5 separate regions of the Homo sapiens genome follow, and regions 1, 3, 4 and 5 are each linked to region 2. The links are contacts of gene promoters, found by promoter capture Hi-C in blood cells and fetal thymus (Javierre and others, 2016). All regions are on one chromosome and are shown on one strand. Each heading gives the region's core, a stretch centred on a gene start or on the middle of the fragment in contact. The rest is flanking DNA. Distances are from core to core; before and after follow the strand shown.

What was found. Contacts are between HindIII fragments. The CHiCAGO score rates a contact against its expected background, and 5 or more counts as called.
Region 1: a contact is called between a fragment that was not itself captured here and the fragment with the promoter of MYF5 in region 2, in 1 of 17 cell types (neutrophils). The highest score is 5.7, in neutrophils.
Region 3: a fragment that was not itself captured here is called in contact with the fragment with the promoter of MYF5 in region 2 in 1 of 17 cell types (M1 macrophages); the score reaches 5.0 in M1 macrophages.
Region 4: a contact is called between a fragment that was not itself captured here and the fragment with the promoter of MYF5 in region 2, in 1 of 17 cell types (M2 macrophages). The highest score is 5.1, in M2 macrophages.
Region 5: a contact is called between a fragment that was not itself captured here and the fragment with the promoter of MYF5 in region 2, in 2 of 17 cell types (M2 macrophages and M1 macrophages). The highest score is 5.9, in M2 macrophages.

The regions. Positions count from the first base shown.
Region 1 is chr12:81,213,287-81,218,589 of GRCh38, forward strand. It overlaps ACSS3 (acyl-CoA synthetase short chain family member 3), which reads left to right. Exons shown (of 16, transcript NM_024560.4): 10 at 3,615-3,710. Among named protein-coding and RNA genes, the nearest start is that of MIR4699, 58 kb to the left of the region's middle. The HindIII fragment of the contact is 3,817 bases long and covers 1,666-5,303 here.
Region 2 is chr12:80,715,635-80,720,820 of GRCh38, forward strand. MYF5 (myogenic factor 5) reads left to right here and starts at 1,278. Exons shown (of 3, transcript NM_005593.3): 1 at 1,278-1,930; 2 at 2,724-2,799; 3 at 3,227-4,037. The coding sequence starts at 1,430. The coding sequence ends at 3,417. The HindIII fragment of the contact is 7,979 bases long and covers 1-5,025 here.
Region 3 is chr12:80,425,280-80,430,148 of GRCh38, forward strand. No RefSeq gene overlaps it. Among named protein-coding and RNA genes, the nearest start is that of PTPRQ, 17 kb to the right of the region's middle. The HindIII fragment of the contact is 963 bases long and covers 798-1,760 here.
Region 4 is chr12:80,457,440-80,462,551 of GRCh38, forward strand. PTPRQ (protein tyrosine phosphatase receptor type Q) reads left to right here. Exons shown (of 45, transcript NM_001145026.2): 4 at 136-205; 5 at 1,845-2,044; 6 at 3,214-3,463. Among named protein-coding and RNA genes, the nearest start is that of PTPRQ, 16 kb to the left of the region's middle. The HindIII fragment of the contact is 2,307 bases long and covers 623-2,929 here.
Region 5 is chr12:80,403,086-80,408,168 of GRCh38, forward strand. No RefSeq gene overlaps it. Among named protein-coding and RNA genes, the nearest start is that of PTPRQ, 39 kb to the right of the region's middle. The HindIII fragment of the contact is 801 bases long and covers 1,803-2,603 here.

The sequences.
Region 1 (5,303 bases), core at 2,324-4,823, 500 kb after region 2:
TGGACCAGTTTGAGAGCAAGAGTGTTTATCTTGTCTGTGTGCATAAGTGTGTGAGGAAATATGTATATGTTTATATTGAAGATGCGTCAGTCCTTGGGTCCTAGGATGTTCAGAGGTACAAAGAAGGATAACCAAAGTATCTGTAACAACAACTACGGTCTTTTTCAGCTCACTTTTGTTCTACCTATGATTCCTTAGTATGCTTAGAGTCCTAGGAACTGCCATTTTGTCTGATTGTATTTTCTACAAGTCACTAGCAATAGTTCTCTTTCCTCCTCTCCTCTCCTCTCCTCTCCTCCCCTCCCCTCCCCTCCCCTCCCCTCCCCTCCCCTCCTCCCCTCTCCTCACCTCCTCCCCTCCCCTCACCTCCTCCCCTCCCCTCCCCTTCCCTCCCCACCCACCTCTGCTGCCCTCCTCTCCCCTCCGCTCCCCTCCGCTCCCCTCCGCTCCCCTCCGCTCGGCTCCTCTCCTCTCCGCTCCTCTCTTCTCTCCTCCTTCTCTTCTCTTTTCTCTTCTCTTCTCTTCTCTTCTCTTCTCTTCTCTTCTCTTCTCTTCTCTCCTCTCCTCTCTTCTCTTCCTTTCTTTCTTTCTTTCTTTCCTTTCTTTCTTTCTTTTGTCCTTCCTTCCTTCCTTCCTTCCTTCCTTCCTTTCTCTCTCTCTCTCCCTCTCTCTCTTTCTTTCTTTCTTTCTTTCTTTCTTTCTTTCTTTCTTTCTTTCTTTCATCTGTCTGTCTGTCTTTCTTTCTTTCTGTCTTTTTTTAATGGAGTCTTGCTCTGTCACCCAGGCTGGAGTGCAGTCGTGTGATCTCGGCTCACTGCAACTTCTGCCTGCTGAGTTCAAGCAATTCTCCTGCCTCAGCCTCCCAAGTAGCTGGGATTGCAGGTGGGTACCACCACGCCTGGCTAATTTTTGTCTTTGTAGTAGAGATGGGGCTTCACCATGTTGGCCAGGTTGGTCCCAAACTCATGACCTCTGGTGATCCACCAGCCTCGGCCTCCGAAAGTGCTGGAATTACAGGCATGAGCCACTACGCCCAGCCAGCAATAGTTCTTTTTCTAATCCTTTGAATGAATCAATCAAAATAAAGTCAACAAGACACTTGAATTACTAATGTTCAAAGTATAAACATATATTATCTACTTTAGGCAACCTGAATGAATAATCATTTTCAGCACCCTAAAGTTTAAGACTCAAATTAATTATATAGAAAAATAAGCTTTTAATAGTTGTCTTATAATCATAATGTATAAAAAAGATGAAGAATAAAGGTTATAAATAAATAATTACTATAGAAAGATGCTTGGGAATCTCAGGAGGTTCGTATATCAGCTTACTTAGGCAGTGAAGAAGGACAACGCTTCATTAATCCTTTCTTGCTGTCTTGCAGCTTTATTTAAGACTAGGTTATACTCTCACCTTCTTTTCCTACATCCCCCTTCTCCCAGTGCGATAGGAACAACAGAGTGATAACGTCTTTCATGAGAATCCACACTGTAAGAACTGTAGAGAGTTTGAACTCTAGGTAACTGGTGTGTCCCTATTGACAAACTGAACTTAATAAGAATACTTCTAAAATAGATTTACTCTAGCAGCTTCCTTGCACCAGGTAGTAGAAGTAACAAAAGCATCTTGAAGGTGGTATCTCCTTTCCTAATGTGTCTGAGAAGCTTCTCTTCCTATTATCATCTTATTTGTTCTGTGTACCTTCTTTTAAGCACCTCACTCTACAAGACTGCTTCCTGTCATCACCCTGCTCTGGTCTCTCATATCCATTTCGAAGGATAGCTGAGGTGAGCACCTGGACATTTCTGAAAAAACAGAGGGGGAAATGCTGTTAACACTTCTGACCATGCAGATGTCCTCCCTTGCTTTGATTATGCTGTGGGGAAAATCGGCAGGAGTATTAGATGGCTATGGATTGCCATTTCATAAAATACCTTCCCCCCTGCCCCCCACCTTTTTTTTTGTCATGCTTGGAAAATACTTTAGAACTCTTTGTTAAACATCAGAAATGTCTGCTCTGGTTACTTGCCGATGATCCTCAGCAGTGACCATATGGCTTAGCATCTTGAGCACTAAACTGTGACTTAGGAACTGTGTTTTGATGTTCAAGAGTTCATCCTCTGTTATTGATGCCAGCTGAGCCTCCATCCATAAAATGTGAATAATAAAATGAACTACTCTGGAAGGTAAAGAGCAGTAATAAATTCTTCCCATCATTCTAAAGTGATATCAATATGTGATAAATTATGGTAGAGCCCATGGTAGAAGGAACACATTCTGAGTACTTTAGAAGATGGATGCCTTTAATTTTTTTGGATTACTTTAGATATGATGGGTTTGGCAGTTAATTCCTTGGGTATATGTATGTGTAGGTTATGTGTGTAATACTAAGCAAGTAATTCCCAAACTTTTCACTAACCAAATACTATTTTCCTGCCCTTTCGTACATATATATTTTGTATTCAAAAGATTGTGTTAACTCCAAACTTGCTTTTATGAATGTTAATAAGTGCATCCCTCCATTAAAAATAACCACTTTCAGAACTTGTGGTAATCAGGTAATAGCTAATATTCTGGCTGTTACAACTTGAGACACAGAAAACAAATTTAGCATTTTTGTCAATCATTGCAGGCTAGTTGTGAGAAAGTTCGTGGTTTTGATGAAATAGTCAGCAGAGTATAGTCATCTTCCTCCCTGTGTTTTGGGGCTTCTAACATCCAGGAACAGCAGACTGAACAACTTGAAAAACTATTGCCAAATTTAGCTTTAAATGCAGGTTCTCTAGGCAAGTGTAGCTCTTAGGAAATTAGAGCATGATATTATCCATATATATTATATATTTTTTTAATTTATAAAGACATTTTATTAAAATGTTTTTTTCTGTGTGTAATCTTTTTTTATTTTTATTATTATTATACTTTAAATTTTAGGGTACGTGTGCACAACATGAATTAAACAATGAGAACACATGGACACAGGAGGGGGAACATCACACACCGGGGACTGTTGTGGGGTTGGAGGAGGGGGGAGGGATAGCATTAGGAGATATACCTAATGCTAAATGACGATATTATCCATATATTAAAAGTAATGGCAGAAACCGCAATTACTTTTACATCAATGTAATAATTTCAAAAATCTTTGGGTTACTTATTCCGGAGAATGAGCTAGAAATAACAAAAATGTTTTGACACAACTGTAATTAACAATGATAAACGAAATAACTTTAGGTGAGTCAAGAGAAAGCATCTTTTCTAGTGATCATTTTAGCTTTTAGTGTGTGTTATGGAACCGTCCAAGTCACATAATTTTCCATTCTACACGCCTGCTGATCCACAATTGCAAACGCTAGAGCAGCCTTTCTTTTCTTTAGAAGAAACACTACTATATAAATTTTTCTAATTATGAATTCTTAAGTTTTAATACTGTGGATATGTTATAAGTTACTAGATAGCTTTAAATTTTTAAATAATATATTTGCACTATTCATCTATTCCTAACACAGCTGCATTGTATGACAAACTAGGGTGGGGTAGAGTGTGCATGTACTCAAGAAACATTATGATTCCAAGTTAAAACATGAAGTGATAAATAACATTTCTTTTTCCAGAGACTGGATCTCCAATTACTGCGTCATGTGTTGGATTAGGCAATTCTAAAACACCTCCACCAGGGCAAGCAGGAAAAAGCGTCCCAGGATACAATGGTAAGGAATGACCCTGATAATACGTAAAGTTAATAAATTTGGCATTTTCTTGCATCTAGTGTGTATTATGTTGCATGAAACAAACTAGGGGCTTAATTAGAATCTGGTTGAATGAATGCCTTGTATTAAAAATGAATGCCTTAATTTTTGCTATCAAAAGTATGTTGTGGATTTCCAGGATATGTTCTAAATGACTGTCATAACCACAAAAATAATATCATTAATAAGGTATGTTAGGAATATGGGTGTGAAATTACTATGAAGGAAACACCTGCTGGGAGCCCAGTACTTTATATATGTCTTTTCATTTCATGCTGAAGTATATTTAATTCAGAGCTATCATTACTATTTTAGAGATGAGTTAACCAACTGGTTAACAGAATAAATAATTTTCTTGAGATAACACTGCTGGTTAGATCCTGGGGACAATGCAAACCATTGTCCTCAGAATTTGCTTGCTTTGATTTCAAAAGCTGCAGTTTCTTACTGTATATTACACATGCTGCATTTTAATTTAGGATTGAGGACAAAGTTTTTAAACCTTATTGTTTAATAATAAAAACAGGCCGGAAGTGGTGGCTCATGCCTGTAATCCCAGCATTTTGGGAGGCCAAGGCAGACGGATCACATGAGGTCAGGAGTTTGAGACCAGCCTGGCCAACATGGTGAAACCTCGTCTCTACTAAATATACAAAAATTAGCCGGGTGTGGTGGTGTGCGCCTCTAACCCCAGCTACTTGGGAGGCTGAGGCACGAGAATTGCTTGAACCCAGGAAGCAGAGGTTTCAGTGAGCTGAGATCGTGCCACTCCAGCCTAGGCAACACAGCAAGACTCTGTCTCAAAAAATAAATAAATAAATATAAAAATAAAAATAAAAACAAAGGGGGAGGATCCCAAAAGAAAACATTTCTTTGATGCTGGCTTTATGTGACTAAAAGCTATAATATCCTGTCAATTTTTGTTTTTAAATTTACAGTAGTAACCATTATTATTAAACAATTTATCTTGGATGGCTCTCTCTAGGTGTATAAATTATACAAGTCACATAACTTTTTGAACACTGTTTCCTTATTTCTAAATAAGAGTAACATTTTTATATGCTTTCCAGGGCTTCTGTTTTGTGATGTTATGCAATAAAGCATTAACACAGTGCCTACCAGTAGAAAGGCAGAATATGTCTTAGCTAGTAGTGCTACTAATATTTCAGAAAAGTCAGAGGACTGACTTGATTTAGACTAACACATTCATTTTACAGACAAGGAAAATGAGGCACAGAGGTTTTGTAATTTGCTTAAGGTCACACAATTTGGCTTAGTAGACCTATGAAGAAAACCTAGCTTTGGGAGACAAAATATGATTCCTAACATATGTTTCTTATTTGCATATAAACTACAAAATTCAGAGATTTGACTTTTGCTTCTCTAACATAAAAATATTGGATTTCCCTTCTAGGACAATGGCTAGTTACAAAAACGTGGATCATTTGGTTTAACCTAGCAGATACATTTATAAAAAGATACTTCAGATTTTTTTTTTATTCAAGGCGGAAATAGATATTCTGTGAAGTCAGTGACTTCTCCAGCCCTGGAAAG
Region 2 (5,186 bases), core at 28-2,527:
AGCACCTCCCCAACCCAAATAACCTGAAAGTGGATTAAGGTTGGAGGAGGATTGGTAAAAGCTGATTAATAGATTCATTCCCACTTAAATGACAACCCTCCCCTCTTGCCTTCTATCCATCGAAGTTCTAAAGACCCTGCTGTGATTGCTTTTCTGGAAGGCTTTTGTCACTGAAGTGTGTGAAGTTACTCCTGGTTTGAGGAGTTGGAAATTTTACACGAGTCAAGGATTGCAGTGGCGGCAGCTGGGACGCATCTGTAACGGTGTTAGTTTGCCTGAAAGCAGAAAATTAGCAACCCCAAAGCCCAGCTTGGCTGTTTAGTCTGTAGAAATGACAGGGCGGAGCAGAAAGAGAGGGAGAAAGGAGACTCACCCCTGGAAAGGGAGTTTGCCGTCGAAAACTGGGCTTCTTCTGTTGGAAATCTTAGAGACACTTTCAGTGCAGGTCTTTGGCCTGCTCAGGATCTAGGGAAGGCCTGGCACAAAGGAGAAGGTGCTCAACAAATACGTACAGAAGGGGAAAATGAAGGAAGCAAGAACGGGAGGAATGTTCCTGGTCACCTGGCCCTCCTGTGCCCCACCTCCTTTTAGATGAGCAGACATACAGGGAGAACTCAGAGCAAGCCCAGTCATGGGAAAAGGAACCTCCCTCCCTACTCTCAATAAGGTAGAGCCTAGAATAAATGACAATCTGAGCAAAACTTTACTCATCTGAAGCTATACAAAATAGATTTGGAAAGGCAAACCCTGTATTCACTCCAAGATTGAAAATGCCACTTCAAGTTTTTAGTAACCGTTATTCAATCCAATTGCTGGAAAAAGTTTTCGAGATAATTGAAGTTCATGAAAAAGAGAAACAAACACCCCCAAATCAGGTGATTCCTCACGCCCAGGATTGGGAGGGCAGGTCGGCTCTTGGTGCCAGCTGAAAGGGATTTCTATTTATTACCACTATTTTAAAATGTGTGTCCAATTGCAAAAAGTTGGACTGCCTTGGTCACTTTTGTGTGAAACACTCCTTAAGTGATCCCTTGTTTTAGCCTATCTAGAGAGTGCAAATGAGCAGGTTGGGGACCCACTGCCGCCCCAGCAGAAATACAGTAAAACCATTAGCGTCAAAAGGGGCAGTACACAGCAGATTGTCTGTAGAGGAAAGGCGGAGGTTTGTCCAGACAGCCCCCGCGGGGGTTGCGGTGGGATATGCTAATAGTGCCTGGCCACTGGGGCCGGCCTCCCTCCCGAAAGAATATATAAAGAACCCCAACCCCAGCTTGTCTACCCAGGCCAACAGGCGTCTGCCCTTGTTAATTACCGGAGCGACAGACTAGGGAGCTCCGCCCGGGATTTGCCCATCGGCGGAGGCGCCAGGCTCCCGTTTCTCCCCATCCCTCTCGCTGCCGTCCAGGTGCACCGCCTGCCTCTCAGCAGGATGGACGTGATGGATGGCTGCCAGTTCTCACCTTCTGAGTACTTCTACGACGGCTCCTGCATACCGTCCCCCGAGGGTGAATTTGGGGACGAGTTTGTGCCGCGAGTGGCTGCCTTCGGAGCGCACAAAGCAGAGCTGCAGGGCTCAGATGAGGACGAGCACGTGCGAGCGCCTACCGGCCACCACCAGGCTGGTCACTGCCTCATGTGGGCCTGCAAAGCCTGCAAGAGGAAGTCCACCACCATGGATCGGCGGAAGGCAGCCACTATGCGCGAGCGGAGGCGCCTGAAGAAGGTCAACCAGGCTTTCGAAACCCTCAAGAGGTGTACCACGACCAACCCCAACCAGAGGCTGCCCAAGGTGGAGATCCTCAGGAATGCCATCCGCTACATCGAGAGCCTGCAGGAGTTGCTGAGAGAGCAGGTGGAGAACTACTATAGCCTGCCGGGACAGAGCTGCTCGGAGCCCACCAGCCCCACCTCCAACTGCTCTGATGGCATGGTAAGCAATAGATCTGGTACCTGCTAGGCTACCCTAATCTTTTCTAAAGTCCTTACACCTCATTTAACCTGGTGTGGTGGGGAGAGTGGGGTGGAGGCAGATGCTGAGTTGCTTTAAAAGAAGAGAGGGGTCCACATTTAGAAAGACTCCCCAAACCGCTGCTGAACAAGATTTTAGTTTAACTTTCTAGCAGGTTCTAGGTGTACACTGTAATCGAGTGTTGACATGGAAGATGGGTGGCTGTGAATGATCACTCAGATGTTTTCTCCATTCCTGAATTTATTTTCAAAATATGCCATCTGTGGATCATGCCCTACGCTAATATCTAAAGGCACCGTTTCTAACTTAATGAGGAAATGGAAAGAAATACCCACACGGCCCCAGTTCCTGCTCCAATGAGGCCTGGCTGAAAGATGTTGATGCATTCTTTTTAGAGGGCGTTTGCTCCAAGGCTGCCAGGTTTTAATGTGTTTTTGCCCTGGGAAAGTGTTCTTTCCCTGAATTAGTGTGGCTTTCTTCTACTCCAATCCATTTTGCATGGTTAACCCAATGCACATTGCTGCTGAATTCCACCCCCTCTTCCCTTTGCTGCTGCTCTCCTCTTCTTCAAGCACAGAGATTGACCTCAGTGCCCTGGGAATTTGGAGAGGGCTAGCCCTTCCTAAATCAAGGCAGTGAAGGTGATTGACAGTGTTCGGTTACAGAGCTGGTGGGCAAGCACAGCCTCACCTTTGGTCAGAACATCTTTTGCCAAGACCTGAAAACAAACTTTGTTGTGTGTCTTGTATTATAGCCCGAATGTAACAGTCCTGTCTGGTCCAGAAAGAGCAGTACTTTTGACAGCATCTACTGTCCTGATGTATCAAATGGTAAGAATTGATAACTTCACAGGAGTTTAAAGACCAGTTCAACCTAACAATTCAGCCTATAAGATTCTGTTCTTGCTGATAGTATTGGGGAAGGGAGAATGGAAGTGATGGTTCTTATAGGGAGGCTTTGGTAAAGCAAAATAAACACATCTTCTGCTCCAAATCCCCCTAGCAGACACGCACGCACACATGCATACACACATGCACACACAATGTTGCTTGAAATATTATCAGGGGGCTTCCCCACTCCCCACGTCTACCCCTCAGGAATTGCCAGATATTTGTTGCAAATTTCTATGTTAGGCTTTCTGTGACCACCTGACCTCTGGGTGTCAGAGGAGCTGACCTACAATTTAAGGAGCAACATAAGCAAATCTGTCTATCTTGGGCTAATTATTTTTTAATGCTTTTCTCCTTGTATCCTTAGTATATGCCACAGATAAAAACTCCTTATCCAGCTTGGATTGCTTATCCAACATAGTGGACCGGATCACCTCCTCAGAGCAACCTGGGTTGCCTCTCCAGGATCTGGCTTCTCTCTCTCCAGTTGCCAGCACCGATTCACAGCCTGCAACTCCAGGGGCTTCTAGTTCCAGGCTTATCTATCATGTGCTATGAACTAATTTTCTGGTCTATATGACTTCTTCCAGGAGGGCCTAATACACAGGAAGAAGAAGGCTTCAAAAAGTCCCAAACCAAGACAACATGTACATAAAGATTTCTTTTCAGTTGTAAATTTGTAAAGATTACCTTGCCACTTTATAAGAAAGTGTATTTAACTAAAAAGTCATCATTGCAAATAATACTTTCTTCTTCTTTATTATTCTTTGCTTAGATATTAATACATAGTTCCAGTAATACTATTTCTGATAGGGGGCCATTGATTGAGGGTAGCTTGTTGCAATGCTTAACTTATATATACATATATATATATTATAAATATTGCTCATCAAAATGTCTCTGGTGTTTAGAGCTTTATTTTTTTCTTTAAAACATTAAAACAGCTGAGAATCAGTTAAATGGAATTTTAAATATATTTAACTATTTCTTTTCTCTTTAATCCTTTAGTTATATTGTATTAAATAAAAATATAATACTGCCTAATGTATATATTTTGATCTTTTCTTGTAAGAAATGTATCTTTTAAATGTAAGCACAAAATAGTACTTTGTGGATCATTTCAAGATATAAGAAATTTTGGAAATTCCACCATAAATAAAATTTTTTACTACAAGAAATATTTTGGCTCATGATCTTTTAAAATAACACCCCAATGGAATTACTGTTCATTGACATGAAATCTTTACATGTGAGCTGAAAATACTTAAACAGTTGGCTTTTCAGATAAGTCTGAATATTTACCATTCTCATGTACCCAGTTTAGGTCCTGTTGATGTCACAAGTGAAAATGTCATATTTTCATTTTAAATATATTTCAAGTGAACCTGCTAAATGAAACTTTTCCTTTATCTTAGAACTGTACCATATACTATCAAGTCGTTTGTGTGTGAAGGGAAGATAGAGGTTATTCAGGACAGTAACACATGCTTTTTTAAAAAAGACTATACAACATCACATCATTTTAATAACTATAGTACAACAGAAGGCATGAGTTAAATCATATTTACTTTTACTACCTGCCTGAAAATATCTTGATAATATATACTAATATTGTCAATAAAATATTTAAAGGTATTGGGCTGATTTTTTTTATATTGCTAGAGTGCCAACATAAGAAAACTTACACAAATTATACTGAAGTGAGACAGACTTGAGTTTTCTTCCTTCTTTTTACAGCCTTTTAAACTTTATTGTATTAATCATATCATGTATGCGTGTGTGTGCATGTGTGTATGTAAAACAGACTTGTCTCATATTCATCACCCTAAATCTCCTCTAGAAAGAACTGATATGAAAAAATTGAACAATTAAGTGGAAAATTAGGTTGAGACAATGATTGGGATAATTATCACAAGTTTACCATTGAGAGAGATTTTAAAAAGAGATTCTTAAAGTATCTAAAGTAGCTATTCACAGAGAACAAATATTGATAATTGTTTAATCCTCTTATATGTACATTGATTTAAAATTCCTAAGGATTTGTGGTTACATACATTAATTTAAAAAAAGCATACAGACTCTTTACTAGAGCTTGGCAATGCTACTGTTCTCAGGAAGGTTTCTCTTTCTCTCTGGTGTGATTTGCTCATGCTTATGCAGTCATGAAGCTTAAAGGAATGGGAATCATTCCATAAGGGAGGTATAAGGGCTGAGTTAAAAAATATGATGGCCACTGTCACTCTGTTAGCATCATGGCCTGACAGGGAACGCTGACTTTTAGCACACAGATATAAGTCTTTACTCATGATTTCAGAGTGTGAGGATTT
Region 3 (4,869 bases), core at 29-2,528, 290 kb before region 2:
TGTCTGAGATATATTCCTGCCTCTGTCACTTATTAATTATGTGACCTTAGGCAAAACAACTGTGTTCTCACCTAGGAAATGAGAATAATTATTCCTGCCTAGGTAAAATAACCTGTTACTAAAGTGAAATGTGAAACTCTTCCTGAAAGTGTAAAGTACTCTAAAACCCTAAGGTATTATTGTCATGAAATAATATTTCTCTAGTACTTGGGCTATATTAACATTTTATGAAAATAAACTTGGGGTATGAAAAAAATAGACTTTTTTATTTAAAAATACTGTCTTTTTGATTGAATTATTTGGGTTCTGTTTGCCTCTTCTGACCTTATTAGCGTAACTTGACATATATGCTTGCTCTGAACATGTGTAGCTATTTCAGAGTCCTTTCACTTGTGGGGCCCAGTCCTATGAAAGTGTGCTCAAGTACCAAGGTTCTCTTAGTTATGAGAAGAGGCTTGATCTCAGAAGTTGCAGTGCAAAGGAAGGGAAGCACTTAAAATGCAGCAATGGTCAAATCAATTCTTTGAAATAAACTAAACAAATTGAGGTATGATTATACTCCAGCGTGATATTATGTGCTTTAGTCACTGCATCAACTCTCTGCAGGCTACTCAAAATGTAGGTTAAGGCTTAGAGGTGTTCATAACTCATTGTTGAAGGTGAGATTTTATCCCGGGTATCTAAAGCTGATATGACCCTGCTGCCTCTCATAAAGACCATTAGAAGAAATATCAGAAATAGATGAGAAAAGTTTTCAATTTTTTAAAAAAGATAGCTCATTATTATATATCAGTGAAAGCTTAGTTGCTGCTTAGATTTGGGTGTTGTTGTTCTCATTGTCACCATCATCATCACCATTGTCATCATCACATTGATTGCATCACATTGAGAGCCTTCATCAGGTACTCTGCTAAGCATTTTCTATGCTTTATATTGCTTCATTATGAATGACAACCTTTATTCTACCAATCATAATAAGATGTACATTTTTTTACACGTTTTTCAAATGAAGAAACAACAGAGCCTTAGAGAATTTCAGTCACTTATACTAGATGACAGAAATTTGAATTCACATTTCTCTGACATCAAATTCTGACCTTGTAACCCTTGTGCTTCAGTGGAAAGGCCACTGTGTTATAGGAAAGACTAACTCTACCCATTCTAGCTCTGCGACTTTGTGAAAATCGTCTTCTGTTTGCACTGCAAGTTCCTTATTTCTAACCTGGGGTTAATAATAATGCTTTCCATAGTTCGTGATGTTGTTGCCTTTTTGATTGTGTTTTCTTAAACAAGACTGGTAACCTTTTTTTAATGTCTTCCATATTGCAATCTGTCTTTTGTCTTCTATTGTATATTATTGATATTTTTATCTTTTTAGTTACCTTCATTTATTTGCAAGTCCCCTCAAGTCAATTTGGAAGTAGATGGAATATTAATAAATGTACAAAATAGAGTTAAAATATATTATGGGATAATAAATTAATTCTAGTTGTAAGGGAATGTGCATTATAGAAAAATAGAATATAAAAGAGTATGAGTCAGTGATTCAGGTTAAATCTACCACAGAGATGAATTCTAATAAACTTAAATCAGTAAATGTAAGTAGAGGCAAAAAAATCCCATTCAAAATTTGAATTTTTAAGGTGAAATTATTTTAATAAAATGTTAATATTACATTTCTTCTAGCAAAGGAAAGCAATACAATAGTTTAATTTGCAATATAGGTTTGAAATAGAGGCATGTTACCAATTTGGAAAATAAGCTTCTAGAACCATCTCAGGTAAAGTGGTTACAGAGAAAAGGAATTTGTGAACTTAAGGAGGGGAGATATATTTCTTTCTTTATGCAGTATATAAATTACAAGTAAACAATACCAATTGTAAGAACTTGAAGTTGGATTCTGCTGTGAGAAAAATAAATGTGAAAATCCATAATTTTATTATTGGAAAAGGCTTTCCAGAAATTCTTTTTTCTTTTTCATTGTAGATATAGAGAGCCTAGACTTGGGGTAAATAGCTTGCACATGGTCACACAGTGCTAAAATTGACTGGATAAGCCTAGGTTTTATGTCTCATATCTAGTACTCTTCAAAGTCAAGGTTATTGGTTCAGCCTAGATAACTTAGTGGTAGAAATGTCTTTTAAAAGATGTCCCAGTGTCTTATTTCATTTCTTTAGATCCAGATCCATCAGATTTGCTAATCTGGGGGCAAGAAGAAAACACGATATGTTTGTCTTGGAAACTATCAGAAGGAGGGTTTGAAAAGTTTCAGGTAAAGAACACTGCTGCTCTCATACCATCTTGATGTTTATCCAGGTCTTTATTTCACTCCTTTTTTTTTGTCCTTCATTTTACATTAATGGTTTTAGAAATTATTGTGCCACTTTGTTAATGTAGGATTTCTCCCCCAAGTATTTCTTGTATTTACTTCTTTAAAAGTACATAGTTGTTATGGAAAGTATTTAAATATGTGTAAAACTGATATCTGATTTTCGATGAGTTGGTTTTTTTGGTGGACATAAACAAGTACATATGTAGTACCAAGGAAGTGAATAAAGGAGTGGTGGTGCTGGAGGATAATGCTCCTGTAACAGCACTGGCTGGCAAAAAGACTCCAGTAGTCACAGCCACGTGATGTGCCACATGCTCTTTCAGTCCCATCCTAGAGATTTAATTGGGTGGAGACTTTTAGCCTAAATAGCACTTTCCAACTGTGTCTGTTATTCATCAGGTAAATATGTACATTTTCATTGCCTTTTTGTTAATAATGTAATCTGGCAGTGGGCATGAGGACAAATTATACTCGCTCTACATCTTATGGTTTGCAAATGGAAATGCTTCTAGTACAGCATTATTGCTTGGTAGTCTGTGGGAGCAATAAACATTTCCAGTGGTAGTCTGTGGGAGCAATAAACATTTCCAGTGGTAGGAGATGGTAACTTTAGTTGCAAATAACATAAAACAACCTAAAATAGTTTAAGCAATAAAGAAAAAAATATTAATACAAGAGTCCCTTATGAAGACCAATAGAACCGGATGTTGGAAAGAATTGGAATCAGCTATTTCAAGGTCATTGAGAACCCAGGGATTATTTTCTTTTTGTCTGGCTACTTCTTTCTGCTTATTGGCCTTATTATTATTTTTTTTTTCTGAAGACCAACTTTGTCTGCTGAGCAATCCATGTGGTGAGTAGAAGAATGCCATACACAACTTCCAAGCACAAATGGGCACCAAGAAAGATAATTTCTCCCTAAATTCCCAAAGAAGGGAATGTAATTATCCCAGGTTGGAATAGAAAGCCAATCCAGATCCAGTGAAACAAAACAAATGGAGTTGGCCTCTATTATCATGCTTACCATTTAAGATTTGAAGAAATAAGCAACAGGAAATTTTTTTTTAATGAATGAGGGCATTATGTATGCCTATAGACTTAGTTGAATGATTTTGAGAACAAAAACAGTTTTATTCATTTGAAAAATTCAACATTCAAATTCAAAAAATTCATTCCTTCAACAATTTCTTGTTCTCATTGTGCTTATATTCTAAAGAACTAGAGGAAGTTAGATCAAGCCTCTTAATATCTTTATCCTTGGGAAGAGCAGATAACTCTCTTTCCCTAAAACCAAAAGGAAGGAGTACTATTTGTTAAAGATCTGGTTGATTCATCAATGTAAATTTCAAAAGGGAACAATCTTAAACGAATACCTTCTTCAGTCACCAAGTATTATCAATTCTACTATTGCAATGTAAATTCCATTTGGCTCTGCAGGGTCCTCAGAACACCAAACTCTCTAAAAATTCTCTAACAATGTAAAATAATGGCATCTGTGCAGCATGTAAGGTCATTAAAGTCTATATTATAGAGAACATAAGGACACACATATCTTAAATTTTTACTAGATTCACATATATTAACTTCAATCAGTTTTGTTTTTTCAGGAGAAGAAAAATTCAATTTTTTTCAGGAGAATAATTTAGCTCTTAGTGATATACTTGCATGTAATATTCTGGTAATAAATTTGATAATACAAGTTTCTTTACAAAACAGATATCCTATTTTGTTTTGCCCAGCATTCTGAGAGTTCAAAAGATAAGGAACATTTATTAGTATGGACAAATGTGAAATTCATTTGAACACCAAATATGTGTTCTAGTGATTAATTCCCTGAAAGTATTAGATTGCTGGCTTTCTTTTCATGAGTGATGGGAGTGCGGAGATTTTTTTTTTTTTTTTTTTTTTATGAGACGGAGTCTCGCTCTGTCGCCCAGGCTGAAGTGCAGTGGCGCGATCTCGGCTCACTGTAAGCTCCGCCTCCCGGATTCACGCCATTCTCCTGCCTCAGCCTCCCGAGTAGCTGGGACTACAGGCGCGTGCCAAGAGATTTATATCCTTTAAAAGAATCTCAGAACTGGCTGAGTGTGGTAGCTCATGCCTGCAATCCCTACACTTTGGGAGGCCGAGGTGGGCAGATCACCTGAGGTCAGGAATTCGAGACCAGCCTGGCTAACATGGTGAAACCCCATCTCTACAGAAATGCAAAAAAAAAAAAAAAAAAAAAAAAAAAGCCGGGCATGGTAGCACGTGCCTGTAATCCCAGCTACTCAGGAAGCTGAGGCAGGAGAATCGCTTGAACCTGGGAGGAGGAGTTTGCAGTGAGCCTAGATCATGCCACTGCACTCCAGTCTTGGCCTGGGAAACAAGAGCAAAACTCCGCTTCAAAAAAAAAAAAAAAAAAAAGGAATCTCAGAATTGTAATGGAACTGAAGGCATAGTCTAGTCCAAGCATGAAAATAAACATTGGCTTGCATATTTCAGACCCAAAAGAATTCATTGTGAATTTAGAAAACATAAGGTAGTTGACATAGAAT
Region 4 (5,112 bases), core at 526-3,025, 260 kb before region 2:
CCTTCTTCCTTGAGAGTATTAAAAAAGTATCTTTGGCATTTATCTTATGGATAAGTCAAAGTTTTGTTTTAAATTTTAGATTCTCTTTTTTCAGGGAGTAAAATGTTTGAACACAATCCTTTTGGTCTGTTCTAGGTTGCTGCTGAAAACAGTGCTGGCATTGGAGTGTTTAGTGATCCATTTCTCTTCCAAACTGCAGAAAGTGGTAATTTTCCTGTCATTTATTTTAAATTGACTTAGTCATGAGTTTGTCGTTTAAAATAATAAAGAACATAAATAAAAACTGACACTAAAATACATATAATTCTCAGTAGCATGGCCACTTAATTAGTTTTAGAGTTCTTTCGGATAGCTAATTTATTCCTTAAAATATATATTATTCTTTCTGATTATAAGAACAGTAAATGTTATCTTACAAAACTTTGAAAAAACAAGAATAAAAAATGAAAATTATCCATAGACTTATCATATAAAAAATGCTTTTATCATTTTGGTGCATTTCTGGCTTGTCTATTTCCCCCATTAATATGTATCTATATGACTATACATTAATGAAAATAAGCTTGTGCTACATATGCAAGTTTATATCCTGCCTTTTCTTTTTAACATGAAGTCATAAGCTTGTTATAACATAAGACTTTTGGAAACACGGATTTTAATGGTTATTATATTATTGGGTAACATGCAGTCATTACCAAACCAATTTAAGATACCTCCATTCTTCCAGGGGCATAGAGGAAAAATCTTGATGTCACCTGTGGCTCTTTTCTCTCACAGTACACATCTAATCTATCAGTAAATCTTACCAGCACAATCATCAAAGTGTATTCTGAATCTCACACTCATTGCTGACATCCTGTCCAACATTATTCCCAAGAATTGTTGCATTATATTTTATTTTTATTAGAATGCAGCTGTCCTGAAGTCCCTTAATTCCTACCTTATATCATTCATATAGACCTCCTTCCAAAGATCTAACTTTCTTATGTAATTTATGTGGCTATTACTTATAAATTATATTTTAGCATCCTTTTGTACAATGTAAACCTAAACTCTAGTTATTTGGCATCTTAATACTAGGCATCTTTACTATCACTTATTTTTTTTTTATCTCAGACGTTTTGTTTCATTTTGATTTCTTTCAAAAATGACTTGTCATGTTTGTTTTATATTCTGAAGGATCTTGGTGTTTTACTCTATCAGTTTTACACACTTTACCATGAGGTTAATGGGAATAATTTCCCCTAATTCTAGCTTCATATTGGTTTCAAGCCAACTCAAATAGAACTCAGATTATTATTATTATTACTCTATATAATTAATAATTGATAGAAAAGCATAATGAAATTCTGAAGTAAGTTGATTTTGAAAATGTAAAATACAATAATTACAACCAATTGCAGGGTATCCACTTGATATTAGGCACTAGACATTTATAAACATTCCAGAAATCTGCTTTTTGGTGAAAATGGTTGTATAATTGATTCAGTTTGCTATGTTTTTCATATCTAATGAAACTACATATTCCAAAATAGTTAAGGAAATAAGAAATTTATCCCAACTTGTTTGTATATTCACAACTATTGATTGAATTTTTTTCATACTTATTTGAAACGTTTCATCAATGCATGTATTAGCCCAGTTATCCTAAAGTAAAGTTGACTTGCCCCAACTCCAGTTTTTTATTTTAGGCAAAGTTCAGTTAAATACATTTATAAAAATCTTACACAAATAGATTTTATGCAGTGTATTATATATTTAATTTCATGTACCATGAAATTATATAAATGCAATTCTAAGTTTTATAACAAAGTTTTTTCCTTCCCAATCTTTCTCTTCCCCAGCTCCAGGAAAAGTGGTGAATCTCACAGTTGAGGCCTACAACGCTTCAGCAGTTAAGCTGATTTGGTATTTACCTCGGCAACCAAATGGCAAAATTACCAGCTTCAAGATTAGTGTCAAGCATGCCAGAAGTGGGATAGTAGTGAAAGATGTCTCAATCAGAGTAGAGGACATTTTGACTGGGAAATTGCCAGAATGCAATGTAAGTATCACAGAACACTTTCTATGTCTTGAAAAATCTTAGATAAATTTAATTTTCATATTTCTAGCATCTAGATACTATATTTTTACCAAAGTTTTATTAGTTATTTGATTACTTATGGTATCATGTTATACACAACGTTTTATTATTTGATTACTTAGGGTATCATGTAACACAATTGGCCTCATTCAGGTAGAATACAGGAATGGTTTGAGAATTCAAGAGTGAGGGATTAAAATCATTTAGGGAATTCTGAAAAGACTTCATCAAAGGAGTAGCATTTGTGATACACCATGGAGCAAGGACAGATAGAGATTTTGTGATGGTGGCATTCCCGGTGGAGGATACTTTATAAAGCCCTGAGGTGGAAAAGTGTAAGATATAATTGGAGAAAATATTTTACTTCCATATGACAGGAGGGAAGAGTACATGTAGGGTAATAGTTGAGGTTAAATTTGCAGAGGTAGACTGTCATTGTTGTGCATATCTTTGGTAAAGAATTTGTCGTTACTCTGGTCATTGATGATAAACCTCATAATAGTAATGCTTTATTATAGAATAAGCATCGTCATTTTAATTATATGATAAGCATAATAATGCTTTTCCTAAAATCATTTTGGTAATCTCTGTGTTACTATTAATGCAAACACAGTCAAACAGTTATTTTTGCTGTAAATACTTTATAAAAGTCTAAAAATCTTCTTTTTCAACTTATGATATAGTTCTAATACACGCACACACCTAACGTGTGAGCTAGTGGCATACTACTACTTTTTAGTACTTATGAGAAAAAAAAGTTCATTAACAGTAAGAAAGCAGCATTTGAACATACACAAGAGTAAAATTATTTCAGCTCTTTGGCTCTTGCACTGTTAACATGAAGCTTAAAAATTCTTACAGATGATTGTGCTGTAGTTTTACCTTTATTTTAAGCCACTTGAAATTCTATTCGTAAAGGTTAAGGTATAAGGAATACAATAAATATGTCCTCTTCTAAAACTGCAGACATAAATGGGTACAATTAAAATCTAGCAAATTTGTCTATAACTTTTGCATGTTATGTGTGTATGTATAGCATAAAAGAAAAAGAAATGAATTACATGTTCTTATTCTTATGTTCACCAAGAGATACAACATTATTTCTCTATTGATCTTATTTTATTTACTAGGAGAATAGTGAATCTTTTTTATGGAGTACAGCCAGCCCTTCTCCAACCCTTGGTAGAGTTACACCTCCATCGCGTACCACACATTCATCAAGCACGTTGACACAGAATGAGATCAGCTCTGTGTGGAAAGAGCCTATCAGTTTTGTAGTGACACACTTGAGACCTTATACAACATATCTTTTTGAAGTTTCAGCTGCTACAACTGAAGCAGGTTATATTGATAGTACGATTGTCAGAACACCAGAATCAGGTATGGTTCACTTTTTGTAGATAAAAAGATTTAAATGATTAGAGAATAATGTTTAATTTATGTAGATATTTAATTTTAATCTTCTTTACCTTTCAGTAACTTTTTTCCCCTAATAATATACCATAGGCATCCCATCAAGGGTTTCTTCGAATTTCTATACTCTTTTATATTATAGCACAAAATAAGTATTTGAAAGGAGAAAGATTTGCAAAAAACAATTCTTGAGCCACTGACCGTGATCCTCATATAGCTTTTATCATTTTATAATGTCAGCAATTTTTAGTAATCATCTTTGCCGTTCTAAATGATTTATAATCATTTACACCCTTCTCTCACTGTTATTGCCATCATCAAAAGCAGAAATACCTGCACTAGCAGAACGAGCATGTGATCAACATTTAGTTATCAGATACAAGCAGTAGCTAAAATATATACCTACTTATATCCCATTTGCACTGCAGTTTCCTCATCTGAAAAATAGAGACAGTAATAGTACCTTCCTTAGGGTGCCAGTGTTAAAATTAAATGAGAATAATTAGATATTATCATTACTACTGAATTTTATGAGAACATATTTTTGGTAAGGTATTCATATATTTAATTATGGTACTATATCAGTATTCATGTAAATACATGTATTTATGTATTTCATATATTTATAAAATTTAAGGGATATTGATATAGTCCCACATTACATAAGGTATTTATTATATATATAATATATATAGCTGACAGATATATCATAATATAGTATCAGGCATTAGGTTGTAATTGCTAATTTCTGAGGTATTGAAAATTATTGGTAGGGTAATTTCACTAAAGCATGTTTTTTCTGATAAAATAGCTGTTGGCTTCTATTATTTTTCATTTCATATAAGTTTGAAGTTTTTTTGTTCATTTAAATAACCATCTTTGAATTATACCATTTTCTTCTTACATACTCCTTACTTTTTATACAATAAAAAAATGATTTCGGGGGGAGCCAAGATGGCCGAATAGGAACAGCTCCGGTCTACAGCTCCCAGCATGAGCGATGCAGAAGACGGGTGATTTCCGCATTTTCATCTAAGGTACCCGTTCGTCTCACTAGGGAGTGCCAGACAGTGGATGCAGGTCAGTGCGTGCAGTGCGCCGTGAGAGAGCCGAAGCAGGGCGAGGCATTGCCTCACTTGGGGAGCACAAGGGGTCAGGGAGTTCCCTTTCCTAGTCAAAGAAAGGGGTGACAGATGGCACCTGGAAAATCCAGTCACTCCCACCCGAATACTGCGCTTTTCCGACAGGCTTAAAAAACGGCACACCAGGAGATTATATCCTGCACATGGCTCAGGGGGTCCTACCCCCACGGAGTCTGCCTGATTGCTAGCACAGCAGTCTGAGATCAAACTGCAAGGTGGCAGCGAGGCTGGGTGAGGGGCACCCGCCATTGCCCAGGCTTGCTTAGGTAAACAAAGCAGCCTGGAAGCTCCAACTGGGTGGAGCCCACCACAGCTCAAGGAGGCCTGCCTGCCTCTGTAGGCTCCACCTCTGGGGGCAGGGCACAGACAAACAAAAAGACAGCAGTAACCTCTGCAGACTTAAATGTCCCTGTCTGACAGCTTTGAAGAGAGCAGTGGTTCTCCCAGCACACAGCTGGAGATCTGAGAACGGGC
Region 5 (5,083 bases), core at 953-3,452, 310 kb before region 2:
ATCTCAAAACATTTTCATTATATACCAATGAATAAACAAACAACAGAAGTTTTTATTGAATGGGATGAATTTCCTAAGGGAGGAAATCCTGAATTTTATTTTTTAAAATATCAACTTGTTAATGATTTTGCTCAAAGAGTAAGGAATCTTTTCTTGGTTCTGATAAAAAGTAAGCATAGTGTAAATCTGGTGTTACCAAGTGCCACATTGTAAATAGGAACCTAATAGTTATCAGGGTTTCTTATTTTATTAATATATAAAATGTTAGCATTTTTTGAAATATCTTTAATAAGTAGATGATCAAATAATATTTAACTTTTTCATAGGAATGACTATTTGTCTTTTTAGAATTTATATACCAAAGGAGAATAATTCTTTAAAAAATGTCTTTTATGTAGAAATAAACATTTCATATATATATTTATATTCCACATTGAAAAACTACTTTTATGAAGGAGATATACAAAAGTCAAATTTTTAATTAATGTGCCTGGCTTAGAGATAATGTTCAATAAACATTTCTTAAGCAGATGAATATAATTATTTGCAGAATGTAAAAAGTATTCTCGCAGACCCACAAAGATGTCAGAAATTAATAATAACACTAAAGGAAAATGAAGATTATCACATCATTTTACAGTCCATGAGATATGGACAAATTTTAAGTGAAAAGTCATTTCAAATTCGTAAGTAATGTATATGTTGATCAACTATGTAAACTTTCATTACCAGATAATTTAAATTTTACAATGATTAACAGGTATAAAATGGTACTGTAAAATTATAATAGTATTATTTTTTACATAATGTAAATCTCAGAATTTAAAGAAAATTATAAACTGAGGTAAGAATATAGTTTTAAATTTTGGCATTTTATGTGTACTAGTGTGAATGGATAGGTAGAGTGGAGATTTTACGTGTTATCCAGATTATGTAAAAAATATAATGTGGTTCTGTAATCTAATTCATTCATTCTATGTAGAATAGAAGAAACTCCCATATAGTCTAGAAAATATTTTATGGGTAGATAATGTTTTCTCATCATGGTGAATCATGTAACTCAATATCCTTTGTGTTTCATTCAATTTTATTTGAATCTGTGCTAATTATTCTCCCTGATTTTTTAGGTGGAATCTCAACTAGCAATATTAAAACAATAGCAACAAGTACAAGTATTTCTTTTAACTGGAGTGTGCCCTCTTCCAAAGATATATCAGTGTCAATATCTTTCAATAATTATTCACAAATTATGCAAAATAATGTTATGGTTTATGAGTGGGGTAATTTAAAACCTGCAGCTTTTTATGCTTTCACATTTGAATTTAAACAGTTACACTTGGATTTCATAAATATATTTCAGAGACTGGATGTTCAAGTTGAAACAGGTATATAGACATTTGGTTCATCATTCATTATATATTTATTATATATTTTGTAGATAATGTAGCAGTTATATTGTATTTCAAAAGAAAGTGATCTGGCCAAGTATTAATCACTGCAGGCTGCTTGTAATCAAATTAGCATAGTCTCCTTTTTTGACTATATCATTCTGGTATCTGACTGATTATTGAACAAGCTGGACTTAGCGGAGTAATGGTAGAAACCAACCTAATAACTTTATTTTCTTCCCAGCACTTCCTTTAAACCCAAGTGGGTTCTCTTTTTCTTTACTCTGACAAAGAGTCATACAAATTCCATAGCGTTTTAGGTTACTTTAATGAGTCAACAAACAGTCTCATTTTCAGGTATTACAAGATCCATTACAATATATTACAAACACACTGATCTTTCATCCTATTTAAAGCTTCTCTGTTACTCATCTATGATCAGACCTGACCACAATTAGGAAAAGTTTAGGGGAAAGGTGAATGTGTTCAATTTTAGGGTCTTCCTAGTTTCATGTCTTTCCTCCACAAGGTGGGAACAGGTAGAAGGGGACAGAATCATAGATAGCTGATGAGGGCAGGACACTCTTTGTGACGGTCTGAGAGTGTCATTTTAATATCCCCTACAGGAATAATAAAAAAGATACAACACATGTATTGTACAAGTGAAGTATAGAAACACTCAAATAGGAAGAAAAAATAAAATAAGGTAATTAAGCGTCCTTTCTCCTGTGGGGAAAAAAAAAGACAAAAGATCTTCAGAACTTTCTCACATATTCCTACTGTGTTGAGTTGAGGCACTGGTAGAATATTAACATGAACTGATGTGCAATATTTTCTCTGAACAGGCTGCTATTTTCTCCAGTCTTTCTGTGGTACATAATCTTGGAGAATAACGCTAAGCAGCCATTCCTGCTTTTTTTCTGGAAGGTAAACACTTTTGAAGTCAAGTGACTGAGAGCAAAATTTTTAGCAAGCATTGTGTCTAGTACTCCAAAATAAAAAGAAACCTGAAATGTGATAAAAAGTTTGCTACCAATACAAAAGTAAGGGAAAAGAAAGGCAATCTAAAGTAAGGTTTTCTTTAGAAAGAAAAACATCGTTTTTTATTTTAATAAAGTTATAATTGGACAATAATTCTGCATAACTAATTCTTACAGCTATTTAAAAAACCATGTTAATTGGTGGTAGTTTATTTGCTCCTTGATTAATAAACAAAGCTTTAATATTTTTATTGGTTTGAAAGTAGTATAGGGAAGGTGCACACTTAATACTATGAGGTTTTCATAATTAACTTGTATACATATTAAGAAATATAATTATGAAATGTTATATTACTGAATTCATCTTTAACAGGGGATTTTTCTTTTGGTAGGATCGTGTTCACAAGGATGGGCAGCATTAAAAAATAACTGTTATAGAATTAACAATGACAGTAAGCCATGGAATATAGCCCAGCAACATTGTAAGTTATCCTTAAGTTCTGCACACCTTGTGGATATAAAAAATGAAGAGGAAAAAAGTTTTGTATTTTCGTATCTCAGGTCAAACAATCAAATAATAATATGGACTGGTCTTAATGATATGAAGGTCAGTAAATGTAAAGAAATACATATATTGTGATAAATGAAACTTTATTATCTATATTCATTCATGCATTCTTTATTCATTGATTTCTTCCTTCATTAATTCAATACAGTTTCTCTTTCTATAGATACCCAGTTTAATATATTTTTAGGCATCTTTTTTAAAACCTAATTTTCCTTTAATTTTGGTATTCCCCAGACCATTTCTAAGTTCATTTGAGTGATTTCATCCATTTCTTCACTCAATTTATCACCTGAACCACCAATTATTCCTAAATTCTTTATCTAGTCTACTTTCCTCTTATGAGTCCAGACATATATCTAATTTTCTTCTGATTATCCCTCTGGCACTTCTTGCAGACACTGTAACATTGCCAAGACTGAACTTGCCTTCTCCCTCTAATCAAACCTGTTTCACTTCCTTTATTCCTCATCTCTGCAAACAGTGCAATAATATGAACCCCAAAACATGAAAAGTGTTTTTCCATTTTCTTCTTTTCACTCCACACATCAGTCTTGTGAAGCTCAATTTTACTAAAAGCAATACAGAAAGATCTGGAGATTTTATTTAACACTAGTGAAATCAGGAGTGTGTAACATTTTTCTTCAACATTCCTAACACTTTGGAAAGTCTCATGAAACTTCATTTGGTCAGCATTTTGTAGAGAAACTCAAGACCTAACATAGTCATCTCTGTCTGTCTGTGTTTTCTTCTTGATGATCCACTGACTTTTATTTCCTGGCACTCAAAGATAAATATGTTCTCCTTGAGATATCCTTATCTATAGTGAACTAAGGCAGATCCTACCAATTTGATGCCAACTTTCCTGTGGAGCTTTGCATAAGCTTGGGAAAACCTCTAGGAATCCTTAATTGCATTTTAAAAATTATTATTTTATTGAGTTTTCTTTATCTTTTAATAGGCAATGAATGAAATTCTAATAAAGATTCCTTAAATCACAATTCATCTTAGACATCTCAGACTCCCTCTCCCAGCATGCCAGTCTCTTCTTAGCAAGTAGACCAGTTAATGTGTGTGTGTGTATATATATATATATATGTATATACACAACTATATATGTATACATATATAGTTGTGTGTGTATATATTTGTGTATATATATACACATATACACACATATATATACATACACACACACACACATATATATATACACACACACACACACACACACACATACAGTTGTTTCCTACTGTTAGCATGATATATTAGGAAATTGGGGCACAGGGAGATTCACTTGCCCATATGGACATGCATCAGATGCTACCCTTAACCATGATATTTTGAGGTTGACATCAAAGTTACCTGCTACATCATAATCCCCATGGTAGGTTCAGAAAGTAATTACTCCTTTAAGTAAATCTGTGCTGAATAAGTGCAAAATTGTTACTGGACTTCAAGGATGGAGAGTGTGTCTTATTCAGCATTCCATTCCTGGCTTCAAACTGGGGTTTGGTACTCAACAGGAACGTAATGAATGAAAGATTAATAGTCTCTTTCTTTCCTTTTGGGATGCTTGCATAGGTAACCTTCATTTAGTTTTCACCTTATAGTTGTAGTAGGTGCTATCATTATTCCCATTTTATACAGGAAAATAGATCTTAGAGAGATCCTGGGGCACATAACTTATCAATGCCCATTCCAGGCCTTGAATTTATATCTGTCTGACCAACTCTCATGCCCTAATCACTTGAAATACTATCACTGATCATATGCCTATTTTTAAAACTACAACAATACATATGTAATAAAGCAGACTTTTTGAGGAAATAGTATTTCTTCATTCTGTTAGGTGGAATTTGAATGCATTGTTTTAAAATCTTTTTAAAATGTCCAGAGGAAACAGGTCTCTTTAATTCTTACCCATGCAGCTTGGTTGGTGCTGTGCTTGATTTTGGGGATGGTCTGATGACCAAAATATAGACATAGTATCTGTTTTCATAGTGTTAATTATCTCTGTAAGTATTACATTTATTTTTTAAGGAGGTGTTATGTATTCGCTGTATTATAAACATACTCTCTAAAACTATTGACAACTATGCAAAGTAGTCATGATTATTTCCATTGCACAGGCAAGAACATTTAGTTTC